2 separate regions of the Homo sapiens genome follow, and region 1 is linked to region 2. The links are contacts of gene promoters, found by promoter capture Hi-C in blood cells and fetal thymus (Javierre and others, 2016). All regions are on one chromosome and are shown on one strand. Each heading gives the region's core, a stretch centred on a gene start or on the middle of the fragment in contact. The rest is flanking DNA. Distances are from core to core; before and after follow the strand shown.

The links. Contacts are between HindIII fragments. The CHiCAGO score rates a contact against its expected background, and 5 or more counts as called.
Region 1: a fragment that was not itself captured here is called in contact with the fragment with the promoter of DDX41 in region 2 in 4 of 17 cell types (activated CD4 T cells, naive CD4 T cells, total CD8 T cells and 1 more); the score reaches 7.7 in activated CD4 T cells.

Annotation. Positions count from the first base shown.
Region 1 is chr5:177,371,502-177,374,201 of GRCh38, reverse strand. RGS14 (regulator of G protein signaling 14) reads right to left here. Exons shown (of 15, transcript NM_006480.5): 14 at 2,613-2,700; 15 at 1,606-2,329. The coding sequence ends at 2,127. Among named protein-coding and RNA genes, the nearest start is that of SLC34A1, 12 kb to the left of the region's middle. RefSeq lists an enhancer at 1-500. The HindIII fragment of the contact is 1,028 bases long and covers 777-1,804 here.
Region 2 is chr5:177,515,627-177,518,423 of GRCh38, reverse strand. DDX41 (DEAD-box helicase 41) reads left to right here and starts at 1,463. Exons shown (of 17, transcript NM_016222.4): 1 at 1,463-1,505; 2 at 1,589-1,699; 3 at 1,977-2,136; 4 at 2,231-2,305; 5 at 2,435-2,495; 6 at 2,603-2,739. The coding sequence starts at 1,479. RefSeq lists enhancers at 1,099-1,368, 1,397-2,221. The HindIII fragment of the contact is 2,611 bases long and covers 323-2,797 here.

The DNA of each region.
Region 1 (2,700 bases), core at 41-2,540, 140 kb after region 2:
AGAGGACTATGTCTGAACCAAATTCTGGCCAGGGAAAGGTACTACTCTGATTGGCTAGTGGAATGGAGTACGCTGATTGGCCAGTGGAATGGAGTATTCTGATCAGCCAGGCTTGCCAGGGATCCGGTTATGCCAGCCAAACAAAATGGGCTGAGGGGGCAGAGGTGTGAAGCTCCCATAGTGGGACAGGGTGGCTGGCAAACCCCACAGATTTCCAGGAGGAGGAGGAGCCAGTTGACTGCGCACGGGGCAGGTAAGGGGAGTTCCTGGCAGAGGAGACAGCGAGTGCAAAGATTCCAATGGGGAAGGCAACGTGACCTGTTTGAGGCAGTCAGGAGACACCCCTCACTCTCTCAGGTGCCTTCTCCTGGCCCCTACACCCCCTAGCTTCCTGTTGCAGCACTTACCTCTCTGGGCTGGAACCCAGTCTGGCTTCTCTCCCCGCAGTCTGGGGCCCTCCTTCTGGGAGGTCCTCCTTGCCTCCCACAGTGAGGGGTTTGGACTTCCAGCTAGACCACCCAGCTAAAGCAGGTAAGAGTGAGAACCTGCCCCTGAGGGGCCAGGTGCGGTGGCTCACGCCTGTAATCCCAACACTTTAGGAGACCGAGGCAGGCGGCTCACAAGGTCAGGAGATCGAGACCATCCTGGCTAACACGGTGAAACCCCGTCTCTACTAAAAATACAAAAAATTAGCTGGGCACGGTGGCGGGGGCCTGTAGTCCCAGCTACTCAGGAGGCTGAGGCAGGAGAATGGCGTGAACCCTGGAGGCGAAGCTTGCAGTGAGCCAAGATGGCCAAGATCGCGCCACTGCACTCTAGCCTGGGCGACAGAGGGAGACTCCGTCTCAAAAAAAAAAAAGAGAGAGAACCTGCCCCTGCTACAACAATCAGTGTCCCCCTTATAGACCTTTGGTGCCCTCAAAGGATTCTCCAGTTATGTGTGCAGAGACACTCAGTCCCCAGTAGAAGCAGAGAACAGGACCAGAATGATGTACTCAGATCCACAGAGACCACAGTACAACAGCAACATGATGGAGAGGCACAGCTCCCCACAGGGTTCTTCACCCCCACACCTCTCCCCGCCCTCTCTCTCACCTCCACACCATGACAGGTCTCACTCTGTCATCCAGGCTGGAGTGCGGTGGCACGATCTCGGCTCACTGCAACCTTCGCCTTCCGGGCTCAAGTGATCCTCTTCCACCTGTCTCCCAAGTAGCTGGGACCACAGGCATGCACCACCACACCCAGGTAATTTTTTGTATTTTTGGTAGAGACAGAGTTTTGACATGTTGCCCAGACTGGTCTCAAACTCCTGAGCTCAAGCGATCCACCCCCACCCCCCTTGGTCTCCCAAAGTGCTGGGATTACAGGTGTGAGCCACCTCACCCAGCTCCCATATTCTTAAAAAAAAAAATACTATAAGATATTCACACACCACCCCATATACTGTGCAGTCAGGAAGAGAGGTTCTGAAAACAGGAAGTCAGGAGGCACATCCTGAGGTCCCCAAGAGTTTCCTGGCACTGACCTTGGTGACAGAAGTAGTGTGTTTTGAGGGTGGGGGAAGCCACAGGACAGTCTGGCACACAAGGAAGACAACTCATGGCAGAATAATAATAATTATTATAATAACAGTATCATACATCAAGGACAAACCCAGCTGCCCCAAGCCTACTGCAAAATCTGTATGTACAGTATAGTCTATGTGGGTGGGGTACAGGGCTGCCTGCCTGCACCCTCAAGGCCTTACTCATACCAGCTTCCTGAGGAGGGGCCGGCCCCTCCTCTTGCCCCTGTTGAAGCTTGGCACAGGCTGGGGAGGCTGGCACTGCCAACGCCATCCCTCCATGTTGGGCAAGCCTGTTCCAAGGGGCTGGACTCACCTCCCCCATTGTGGCCTGGCTGCAAGGGATTGGGGGTGAGCTTGTTGAGGGACAAGGCGGTGGCAGCTGTGGGGTGTGTCTCATCTGAGTCCCCTTTCCACCCCTACCGGCTCTTCCTGCGGGCCTGCCCATGGCAGGAAGGGGCCAGGGACACTCATGGCACAGACAGGGCATGCAGAGCGGACCCATGGCATGCTCGGCCCGCCGGGTGCCATGCAGCTGTCCTGGACTGTTGGGTAGCTGTCAGAGGGCTGAGTCGGTGGTGGAGTTCAAGGATCCCCCGATGGGCTGGGCTGCTGATTTGGTCTGTGGTGGGGTCTCCTCGGAGCTGGGCCCTTGGGCGGGCAGCTGCAGAAATTCTGGAAGTACCAGGTCCTCTTTCCTCAGAAGGCCCCTCTGGTCGTGGGCCCCGCTGCTCTGCACCCGGTTCAGCAGCTCCACCAGGCCTGGAGGCAAGCCACAGCATGAGGGTCCCCCCAGCAGACCTGCCTATATGCCAGCCCACGATAGTCCCACTGCCTTACTGTGGCCACTGCCTCCCTGGCCCCAGCACCAATGGCCTGCGGCCCCCTGTTCCAGCCCCTTTGACCCCCCAACCCCCATCCTTCCTGTTCCACGCCCAGTGGCACCCAGCCCCCTGCCTTAGCTCAAGGCTCTCTGATGCCACCCTGAATGGTCCCCAACCCCACTGCCCTAGTCTTTCTGATCCCCAGCTCATCCACCATGTACCTTCGATGTCACAGGTCTGCCGCTTTCCAGTGGCACTACTGGGCACCTTCACCAGAGAACTGGGGGACGCTGGAGGGGGATGGGTGGC
Region 2 (2,797 bases), core at 214-2,713:
CCTAGTGAATCTGTGTACTTGCACATCGCCAGACCTGTATTCCTGCAGCGCCCTGGCCCAGGACGCCTCTCCTCTCCCGGCCTGAGATTGCCATGTATTTGGGTGTTGTGAGCAGGACCAGAAACCATGTCCTCCTCCATCCCTCCCAGGTTGAGACCCACCATGGGACTGGCAGTAAGCACCAGCTTATTTTTTTTATAGAGATGGGGTCTTGCTATGTTGTCCAAGCTGGTCTTGAACTCCTGGCTTCAAGCGATCCTCCTGCCTTGGCCTCCCAGAGAGCTGGGATTACAGGAATGAGCCACTGTGCCCAGCCTAAGCTTTCTTTACTAAAGAAGACTTCATGAATTCCTGTGTATCCTTCACATCCCAGCTAAGAGGCCATTGTACTGTGAAAACTATGACACTTCGAAAAGCGGTACCTTGTCTTAGGATCTTTCTCTTTAAGACCAGTTATCTGTCTATATTTCTAGTCTCAATCTACATAAGCTCCTCGCACACCAGGTATGTGTCTTGATTATCATCTGCTTGAGCGCAGTGCCAGCGCCCAGCACACACTCTTGAAGGCAAGAAAGCACAGAGCTGACCAAGTCATTCCTTAGAAGTCTCTAATAAAGTTGAAACCACTTACTCTGACAGTCACAGCAGGCATGCTCTGGTCGCAATCTCCTTTTCTGGCCTTAGGTCTGGCTTCCCCATCCCACCCTTGCCGCAATGCTGTTGCCTGGTGAATCTGTGTACTTGCACATCGCCAGACCTGTATTCCTGCAGCGCCCTGGCCCAGGACGCCTCTCCTCTCCCGGCCTGAGATTGCCACGCTTCCCTGGAAGCGCCCCCCAGGCAGCTCTGTTAGAGCATTTACAGTAATAACCGTTTACATTTATACAGGGCCTCCCACTTCAAAACCACTGCCATCCGTATCTGATGCGTGCCCCACCAGTGAACGTATGTGTCACACAGGCGCAGTCAGGGAGGCAGGGTGTGTCGAGCGGTTTATCCCGCAACCCCGGCGTCCCCGGCAGGGATGAAAGCGCAGGGCCCACGCGAACTCGGCCCGCAGCTCCCGGCCCTAGAGGACGCACTGTCCGCCGGCAGGGGCGTGCCCAAGACGCCATGCTCTGGGAGAGGTTGGGCACCTGGCAGGCCGCCCCGACTCCGGATCAGCTGTCTCCGCTGCGTACGTCTTCCTCTTCCAATGGGCTTGGATTGAGCCTTCTAGCGCATATTCCAAGTCCTCCAATGTCCCACAATGCCTTGCAGCCGGTTTCGCCCTCGGTCCTGGCAACTGTCGCGTAACCACCCATGAAAGCGTCCATGCCTCGCCGTGCGATAGTATCTCCGGAACAAATTTGTCCCTCTGCGCGATCCGGAACTCCGAGGTCGTTCCTACGCGCCGTCGTTCGCCTCTTCACATCGGATTGGGTCTCACGCAAGGATGAGGCGGGGTTTCGCCGTGGCGCGCATGCGTGCAGCAAAGAATGGAGGAGTCGGAACCCGAACGGAAGGTAGGAGAGAGGCGAGACCCCGCGCGTGTGGGAGCGGGCGTGAAGAGGGGAGCAGGCCGTGCCTGACTGGCGTGTGCTTGCAGCGGGCTCGCACCGACGAGGTGCCTGCCGGAGGAAGCCGCTCCGAGGCGGAAGATGAGGACGACGAGGACTACGTGCCCTATGTGCCGTTACGGCAGCGCCGGCAGCTACTGGTGAGGGGCACGCGTCCGGGGAGGGATGGGGCCGTGACCGCGGGGTCGCAGGGGGCGGGCGTGGCCTCGGCCTCCGTGGGGAGGAGGGCAGTCTGAGGAGTGAGCTTCAGTACACCAGGGCGCGGCCCCCAGACAAACGAGGGACCGACGGCTTGATCTGAGGGGTAGGGCAGCTTTGCGCCTCGGGCACAGGATCCTCGCCCCAAAGCCAGGATCCTGACGCTGACCTTGTGGACTCCATGCCCATCCTATCTGTGGATCCCGGGTGGAACCTCAGCTCCAGAAGCTGCTGCAGCGAAGACGCAAGGGAGCTGCGGAGGAAGAGCAGCAGGACAGCGGTAGTGAACCCCGGGGAGATGAGGACGACATCCCGCTAGGCCCTCAGTCCAACGTCAGCCTCCTGGATCAGCACCAGCACCTTAAAGAGAAGGCTGAAGGTGGGCTGGGCAGCACTGCCTGGGCGAGAAAGAAGAAGCTGAGCCTGGTACACCGTTTTGGTATCTGTCTGACATCTTCCACTTCTTTTCTCAGCGCGCAAAGAGTCTGCCAAGGAGAAGCAGCTGAAGGAAGAAGAGAAGATCCTGGAGAGTGTTGCCGAGGGCCGAGGTATGGTTGTAGCCAGGATAGTGAGAAGGTGGACTGAGTCTTCTCCTCCCAGCCCCAGGCATGTTATATCTCAAGGGATCTGGCTTCTCAGAAGCAGGAGCCAGCCCTGAGCCATGTCTCTCTCTTCAGCATTGATGTCAGTGAAGGAGATGGCTAAGGGCATTACGTATGATGACCCCATCAAAACCAGGTATGTCTGTACAGTCTGCAGTTGCCCTTGCTTAGGATGGTACATGCAGGGATGCTCCCAGGCCAGCTATTCCCAGGGCTCTCTTGATCCCTGTTACCCATCCACAGCTGGACTCCACCCCGTTATGTTCTGAGCATGTCTGAAGAGCGACATGAGCGCGTGCGGAAGAAATACCACATCCTGGTGGAGGGAGACGGTATCCCACCACCCATCAAGAGCTTCAAGGAAATGAAGTTTCCTGCAGGTAGTCAGGGGCTGGAGAGAGATACCACACTTTTATAATCAAATGCCTGTGAGGTTAT